Linked DNA regions of Homo sapiens: all the other regions are linked to region 2. Evidence: promoter capture Hi-C in 16 types of primary human blood cells and fetal thymus (Javierre and others, 2016). All regions are on one chromosome and are shown on one strand. The core of a region is centred on a gene start or on the middle of the fragment in contact, and the rest is flanking DNA. Distances in the headings are between cores, read along the strand shown.

What was found. The method cuts DNA at HindIII sites, captures the fragments that hold promoters and counts their contacts. A CHiCAGO score of 5 or more calls a contact.
Region 1: a fragment that was not itself captured here is called in contact with the fragment with the promoter of CCDC126 in region 2 in 1 of 17 cell types (naive CD8 T cells); the score reaches 5.4 in naive CD8 T cells.
Region 3: a fragment that was not itself captured here is called in contact with the fragment with the promoter of CCDC126 in region 2 in 2 of 17 cell types (total B cells and total CD8 T cells); the score reaches 6.0 in total B cells.

Annotation. Positions count from the first base shown.
Region 1 is chr7:24,589,514-24,592,481 of GRCh38, reverse strand. The region is part of intron 1 of PALS2 (protein associated with LIN7 2, MAGUK p55 family member); the gene reads right to left. Among named protein-coding and RNA genes, the nearest start is that of PALS2, 18 kb to the right of the region's middle. The HindIII fragment of the contact is 2,116 bases long and covers 655-2,770 here.
Region 2 is chr7:23,596,033-23,598,732 of GRCh38, reverse strand. It overlaps CCDC126 (coiled-coil domain containing 126), which reads right to left and starts at 1,351. Exons shown (of 4, transcript NM_138771.4): 1 at 1,128-1,351; 2 at 682-766. It overlaps LOC105375187 (a long non-coding RNA gene), which reads left to right and starts at 1,408. Exons shown (of 2, transcript XR_927098.2): 1 at 1,408-1,616. RefSeq lists a silencer at 870-1,109. The HindIII fragment of the contact is 1,118 bases long and covers 546-1,663 here.
Region 3 is chr7:24,567,452-24,570,451 of GRCh38, reverse strand. No RefSeq gene overlaps it. Among named protein-coding and RNA genes, the nearest start is that of PALS2, 4.5 kb to the left of the region's middle. The HindIII fragment of the contact is 1,322 bases long and covers 607-1,928 here.

The DNA.
Region 1 (2,968 bases), core at 463-2,962, 990 kb before region 2:
TACAGAATCAAAATTCCTTAATACAGCATAAGGGCCTTCACATCCTCCTCTGTTAGCTGGCCAGTCCAAACGTCCCCACTTGCCTCTCCTTACAGGGGCCCTTTTATTCCAACCACTCTGGACCATTTGCCATTCCATAGATTCATTGCTTCATACTGCTGTAAATTCATCTTAATTGTCTCAAATGAAGCCTTCCCTGACCCAACCTAGCAGATTTACAATATACAGCACTTACCACATTATACAGTACAGTTGATTCTCATTATTCTGTGTTTGCGAATTTGCCTACTTGCTAAAATTTACTTTTAATCCAATAATCGATACTTACAGAGCTTTTGTGGTCATTAGTGGATATGCAGAGTGGTGAAAAATTTGAGTCACCCAACATTGCACAGTCCCAGCTGAGGTGGAAGAAAGCAACACTCTGCTTTCTTGTTTCGGCTCTCATACTAAAAACAAGTATCCTTTTCATAGTTTATTTTGTGCCACTTTTTTTTTTGCATTTTTCTGTTGTTTGTGATTTCACAAAATGGTCCCCAATCATAGCACTGAAGTGCTATCTAGTGTTTCTTTATCATGAAAAGGCTCTGGTGTGCTTTACAGAAAAATGTACATATTAGACAAGCTTTGTTCAGGCATAAGATATGGTAAGCTTGGCTATGAGTACAATGTTAATGAATCAATAATATATAATAAAGTATCTTTAAAGAGAAATACAGATAAAAAAGGCTATATATTGACCAGTTGATGAACATACTGTGACTAAAGGCTTGCAGGAACCTAACCCTGCATTTCCCCTAGAAGCAACACGGCTCAGCATTTGATAATTCTGCATTTGCAGAGACTTTATACACCATAACTATCTTGAATAATGAGAACTATTTTAATTTACATGTCTATCTCTAACACAAAATTAGTGGGTTCACTGAGGATATGGCATTTTATTTATTTTTGTACTCTAATTCTTAGTATTACTCCAGACACATCACATTTAATAAATACTCATTGGATGAAATTTTAAAATTCTGGCTTCTCATCATTGTAATGTGATTTGCTTTATATAGCTAGACTTTATGGTAAGAGCCCACGTATGTCAAGCTACACACTGCCCCCTATCTCAGTGAGGCCTTGCTCAACTGCATAATGGTCTGAATGTCATCCTCCATTCCTGACCCTGTCCCTCTTTTACAGCCAAAGACTATGCTTTTTAAATTCAAACTTAAAATGACAGTTAAATGGAAAGGTATTTACATTGATTTTTCCTAAGGTCAGTTGGTCCTAATAGACATAGTATACCTCAAAACTATTAGACACACTTCCAGTTAAAGTGGAAGACTGAACACACATGCCTATGTTCCCTCCCTCCTGAGGTCCCACTGAAATGACAAAACAGGTATGTAATTTTAAAAAAGAATAAAACAGCACTAATACTGGAGGGGAGGTGAGACAAAAATAAAAGAGAAAGAGATTAGCAAACCAGAAGTTTAGGAACTGCTTAGAAGTTAGAAAACAGATAAGAAAGGCTTGCTGGTTTGGCAAAGAAGGTACCCTTGAAAATCTGAAAATAATTCTCTCACAAAACATCTAAAAATGCAAAATAAAATACTGAAAACATCCCCTCAAAAAAAAAAAAAAAGTCCCCAAGAATATCCCTGTGAGCCAATATGAAGGGGAAAAAACAAACTAGTAAGTAGGTACTGAAGTTATGACTGCCCTGGGGTGTTTAGGATTTCAGTAACCAGGAGTTCAGAAGCTGCCATTTAGGCCCTGGCCTGTTCAAGATGAAAAATGCAACTTAGACCTTCCCACATGAAGCTGAGACCTTATAGGACTAACCCCTACTTTGTAAGAGTAGTCTAATAAAAACATGCCTGTTGGCCAAGGAAGACAATAAGGAAGTTGGCCTGTCTCAGATTGGACTCCATATTAGCAGAAAAAAATATCACCTGAGAATTAGTAATCACAGCCTACTCTCAAGGATTCAGGGTTCCAAATATACCTACCTGCCTAGTTCAGAACACCCCAAGCAGAGAAACTACGAAGTGGTCTTGGGTCAGTGGCTTCCACAGGTGCCAAAGAAAAGCCTTGGCAAACCTTGGAAAGAATGTGTCCTCTAACTGGGCTGCACAGAATTTCCTCCAATAAAACCCAGCGAAGCAAGAGCACACAATTCAAAAATCATCAAACAGTAACAAAAAGACAGGTAGCTGAAAACACAAGAAAGTAAGACTATCAGGAAAGAAAGCAGGTAAGATTGAAAAATCTTATCATCTAAGACTTTAGAAGTAAGCACAGTTCCTCCCAAGTGGACTTTCTCTGGGCCTCCCTCAAGAAGTCTGTGCGCACTTAAATATTCTTTTATACTAGAGTCAATACTTACTGTGTGAAATTGAAAACATAAACATATGCTTTCTAAGATGTATGTTTTTTAAAATTAGCATACCACCTCTCCCCAGTGAGCATTTGGAAATGTACTAGGCCATTTTTGATTGTCTCAGTAACTGTGGTAGAAAACCAAATATTAAGGGACACTAAACACTGAGTAGTGTTCAGGTCAGGACAATCCTGCATTGCAAAGTATAGTACTGCCAAAAATGCCAGTCATGAATTGAGAACCACTTTACTAATATAACTAAATCTGAAACTACTAACCATGATTAACTCTATGAAGTAAGAGTAGGGATAGAAACCTTTAACTTTCATGGTACATTCATTCTTCCATGCTGATTTTAACTTTGCATGTCATGTAGCATTAATAATTTTAAAAGCTTAATTAAAAATAAATTGATCATAAATAAGTAATGGGATGAGAGAACTATGTTACTCATTAACCAACATAAATTCCTCCCTCCAGGTACACTAGCTTGTTCAGAGCATTAACAATACAGAAATGCATTTGACTGCCCTGAAATTTCTACACTCAGAAAAGTAGTCTCTTCACACACTTAAATATTTCTTAGGTAAAATA
Region 2 (2,700 bases), core at 102-2,601:
GTATTTTTGCAACACATTTTAGAGTGAGAAATTATTAATCAGTGAGAAGATGCAGACAGATGTAGAAAAAAGTTGACCCAGGTTAAATATGGTGAAGCCCAGAGGCAGGACTGTAAAATACCTGGATGCCTACTCTGACGAAACAAACACTTAGCGCCTCTAAGGATTCCCAAAGGACACACCTGAGGGGGAGGGGAGAGGTGAATACTTGTACCTCTGAAGCTGATCCACAGAAAAGCAGAGTCATCAATTTCCTAAGAACATTCTCAGCCATCTTAAAACAGCAAAAATTAGGAAGACGGCATATTTTAATGAATCCTTTGGTTAGGTTTAAGATAAAGTGAAGAACACACAACCCAGGATGATTAAACAAACAAAAGCACAAAACTCAAGTCCAGAGGCCACTTCGGTCACTTCAGTCATAGCTAATGAAAGTATCACAAAGGATCTTTTCATCAAATGAAGAACTAATGACGTTATAGGTCTATATTCCTAATTCTAACCACTTACAGGTGTGTGTTTTGATGGATGAGAAAACTCAAGCTTAGAGCCTTTAAGTAACCAAGATCACCAAGGCAGGCAGTGAGAGAAACCCAGGCAGGATTCGAACCCTAGCTGGCTGAGCCATTCTCATTACCGTCACAGTCAACAATCAACACGGCAGTTTAAGTTCATCCTTACCAGTCACCCAGGAGATGAGTTTTGAAGAGGGAGTTTAAAAGGGGCATCTGACTTTCTCTCTCTCCCAAAGTAGAAGAGAACTGAGCTGTCAAAAACAGAAAAAGAAGTGAGTGCGGTGCCGCCCGGGATCTACATCCCGCAGCTCCGGACCAAGCCCGCCCCGCTCGACTCGCGCAGCCCCAGCCACGCTCGGCTCTCCGCCCGAGCCGAGGCGCCGCGGCTGTCAGACGCGGAGGGGCAGAGACGCGGCCCAAAGGAAGGGACAAAGAGCCTTCCCGGCCGCGGCCGGAGGCTGCCGGCCCGTTCCTAAGCCGGGTTTCCGCAGCAGCGGCCCTAGCGGGGCGGGGACCGGGGACGGGGGCGCGGCGGGGGAGGAGCGGCCGGCTAGGCTGAGGGGCGCGCGAGAGGTGCGGGCCCGGCTGGCGGACTCGCCCCTTACTCATTACCTGGCCGTGGGCTTCTCGTCACGGTCGCCGCCGCCACGGAGCTTCTGAGCCGGGGCGACGCAGCGAGAGCTAATAAGCGGGCGTCAGCTGCGTCCCACACTGGCGAAGCAGCCTCCAGATCGAGCTGGAGAAACGCCGGTGGGTGGGAGTTGGGACGAGGTTTGTTCCCAGCTTGTGGAGATTTTACTCCGCTCGTCCCTCGCACTCGGCTTCCGCTCCGCCTCCCTGCCGGCCCTTCCCGCACTCGGGGGCCAGCCGCCCGCGGCGCGCGGCATTGTGGGGGATGTAGTCCCAGAATGAGGAAGCGGCGGCACGTGCTTCCAGCCGCCCTGCACCTACCCTGGGTCAGAACGACGCAGCTGCGCGGCAACCAGAGAGGGCGGCGGGGTCTTCTGTGTTGGAAGATGAGCCCGCCAGAGGCATACCCTCGGCCTTAACTCGCTGCAGGCGCTGGAAGAAGGGCTCTGGCGTCTTGTTCCCGACCCTCCGGTGAGGAACCAACCTCCTAATACTATTGACCTGAGGCTGGGAAAGCTTAGTGATGATTAAGTGTGCTACAGATGAGACTACCCATTATTGAAGCCAAAGGTCCTTAGCCAGTGGAGTGAGGCAAGAAAAATAAAAGGATTGAAGATTAAATAGGAAGAAACAAAATTATTTTTTCATAGATTATGTAATTATGTACGTGGAGGCCGGGCGCCGTTGGCTCATGCCTGTAATCCCAGCAGTTTGTGAGGCCAAGACGGGAGGATCACCTGAGGTCGGGAATTCGAGACCAGCCTGGCCAACATGGTGAAACCCCGTCTCTACTACAGATACGAACTTAGCAGGGCGAGGTGGCGGACGCCTGTAATTCCAGCCTCTCGGGGAGCTGAGGCGGGAGAATTGCTTGAACCCAGGAGGCGGAGGTTGCAGTGAGCTGATATCGCGCCACTGCACTCCAGCCTGGGCAACAAGAGCAGAACTCCGTCTCAAAAAAAAAAAAAAATTGTTTGTGGCACTTCAAAACAATCTGCAGATAAACTGTTAACAATAAAAGTTTTTAACAAGGTTAATAGATACAAAAATCATATTTTAAAAAATCAATATTTATTTATATATGCTAGTAAAAAAGATAATTTTTTTAAAGATACCATTTCCAACAGCTCCAAACAAATATCAAGTACCTAGGAATAAATCGATCAAAGAAATGCAAAACCTGCCTGAAGAAAACATTGGAAGACACTGAAGAAGACCTAAATAAAGATGTAACATGTTCATAAATTGGAAGAGTCAATACTGAAAAATGCCAAGTCTCTCCAAACCTACCTACAGAGCCAGTGCAATTCCCAACAAAATCTCAATAAATTTCTGTGTATGTGTGAGAAACTTGACAAGCTAATTCAAAATGTTATGGAAGAGCAAAGACAAGCATTCATGAGGAAGAGGAGGAAGAAAAAAAAAGAAGAGGAGAAGGAGTGGGAGGAGGAAAACTTGTGCTACCGGATAACAAGCTTTATTATAGACTAGGCACGGTGGCCCATGCCTATGATCTCAGCACTTCGGGAGGCTGAGGCAAGTGGATTGCTTGAGC
Region 3 (3,000 bases), core at 18-2,517, 970 kb before region 2:
CTGTGTACTTGTTTTTCAACTAATCCATCATAGTAAAAGCAGTGACACTCCTGGAGGATAGCTTTATTTAAAAATGCAACTGGCATGCATCACAAAGTCCAACCAAGTTTTCCTTCAGAATACTTTATTTAGCTTCACTCCTTTTATCTCTGCTCACAAAGCTAGGTCAGATTCCAATTTCCAGCCTCCTTGCTAACCTTTCTAATTCTAGCCTCTCTCTTGCTTCCTTGCAATTTATCCTATACTCAGAGCAGTGCTTCTTAATTTTTGGCTCTTTATTGAAATCACCCAGAGAACTTTAAGAAACAAAACAAAGCACTGATGCTTTGATGCCATCCCAGACTTAATTGCTCTGGAGCACAGCCTGGGTGCCAGGATTTTTTCAGAGCTCTCCAGATAACTCTAATACGCAGCCAGAGTTAAGAACTATGGAAATGAATCATCTTCCAAACAACATTTATACCAAATCTTCACAACAGTGGGGTAGCTCCAAATTACCTCGAGTAATCAAATTAAAATTCCTAATCCTGTGCTTTAAGACTCTTTGCCAATTGACTAGAATAGTCCCCTTTCAAAACAGCTTAAATTTATCTCCTTCCTAAAGCTTCTCCAGATTAGTCTCACCTGGCTGCCTGAAGATCACCGTTCCCAGCTCTGAGCATCCCGACTGGCACTGGTTTACAAACCGCTGGACCTCAGTTGATTGTGTACATTATTGTTTTAATCTTGCTTTCATAGATATTTGTCAGAGGCTTTTCTTATAATCTAAATCTTTCCAAAAGTCCCACTGGGTCAACTGTCTCAAACAGAAATGTCTTAGCAGAACTTTCTCCTCTAAACTAGCTGTCTGAAAAAACATTTCCTGATACGATGGCAGTTCTTTTTTTTTTTTTAATCATCACAATTAAAGCCAAACATTATAAGAACTTGAGTTTTGGGGTTGTTTGGTTTTTCCTTAAAAAAGAAAACTATATATCTCAGCATATCTCCTTGACTTTTCTTACCATTATTTGTTTATTTTAGGCATTGGAATTGGGCTTCCACACCCACTTCTCTGCTGAAACTACTATTTCCATCACAATTAACATTTTCATTCATGTGTTCATCCATTCAGTCACTCATTTACTAGTGAAGCATAATGAAAATAAAAAAATTAACAATATCAAGTAGTCCCTACCTAATGGCGAAGAATAATAAGCAAAATATTACATAATAAGTGCTATGCCAGGTGTCTTAATAGTATATGACAGAATTAGTGGGGAAGGTCTTTGCTTAGTGTTCATGCCATTGAACTTCTCTGCAGTGTTTGAGGAGGTTAATCTCTCGTACTCTCACTCTCTAAACCTCTCTTTTCCTTTAACTTCTCTGATACCATACCACCTGGGAGCTCTTTCGACCTCTCTGACTGTTCCATCTCTGACCCTTACTTTGCTGTGTTATCTCCTCCTACTTCCTAAAGAAAAATGTTCCACTAAGAATGAAATAAATTTTTGAGGAGAAACTTAAAAAGAGCAGATAGTACTGTTTATCTTGAGAATCCCAGGGATCCTTAGGACTCTAGCACCAATGCTTCCACATCTGTATCTATTCTCCCTTGAGGCATATTTTCAACTCGCTGTTGAAAATTTCCATCTAGATAAGCTATTCACGGGGTTGCTCCTGCTGGTTTTTCTGGCACCTTCCTTTCCTTTACCTCCTTTTACCATCTCCTGAACAAACACATACTCAAATCCCTTGCAGCCCACTTTCTCAAAATTATAGGAATGGATTCTCTTGTTTATTTGCTTTAGTCCTACAGAGTCTCCTAACTCATCTCCCTGCCTCAGGGCCTCCTTGCCCTGACTGCCAGGTGCCAGTCATTTTATCCCTGTCTCCTTACTGCCTACGGGACCCCATTTACAAGGTCATTCACAATGACAGTCAAAGCTTCCCTGTTTGGATATTCTAGTTAGTCATATCTTGTATCTTTATGTTTCTACCCCTGTTTTTGCCTTCTGCCATCTCTGCTGGCCAAAATCCAAGCATGTGTGCTCATCTCACACCCTCCTTTTCCATGAAACCCTTTCTGCCTCACCTCAAACAGAGGTACAGTAGTCCCCCAGTCCCCCCTTATTCATGGTTTCACTTTCCAAGGTTTCAGTTTTCCTCAGTACAGTATGATAAGATATTTTGAGAAAGAGAGACACTATGTTCACGTAACTTTTATGAAGGTATATTGTTATAATTGTTCTATTTTATTATTAGTTATTGTTAATCTCTTAACGTGCCTAATGTATAAATTAAAAACTTTATCATAGGTATGTATGTCTACAAACCATAGTACATATATATATATATATATATATATATATAAAATATGTACAGTGCAGTACTATCCATGGTTTCAGGTATTCACTGGGGGGCTTGGAATGGATGCCCTCTTGGATAAGAAGGGACTAGTGTAATTGCTCTCCTTTGAACTCCTGTAGCACTTTAATTGCATCTTATGGCTCCTTTCCTATTCTGCTTCATAAAAGCATCATTTATGTTTTCAAATATTTATCTTTGCATTCTTTTTACCGCCACTCAGCCCCATCCCCTTCTTTCTTGCAGGTAAAATCCAGGGTGATGTGTACAGGAATGCCTGTAGCACTTGGCATAGTACTGCACATAGTAGCTGCTCATTTATTGAAACAGATAAACCTGTTAGTTGGTAGACTTCTAAAATTAAATAAAATTAAGTGAAAAATGTTGCTAATTACAATTGAACACTTGTTCCAGAATATGCAAGTTACAGATGAAAAGCTCTTAGAAAGACAATCAGATTTCAAGCAGTGACCTTAATTGAGCTTGACTTTATCTCACCAGGAGCCAGCATCTATATGTAATTAACCCTTTTAGATACTCATTTAAAATCGGCCTCTAAATTCTACCTCTCCCATTATATATATGAACTGAAAAAAAAATCCTTCTACTCAAGTATCAAAAAGAAGATTAAAAAGACATAGGAAAACAGGAAAA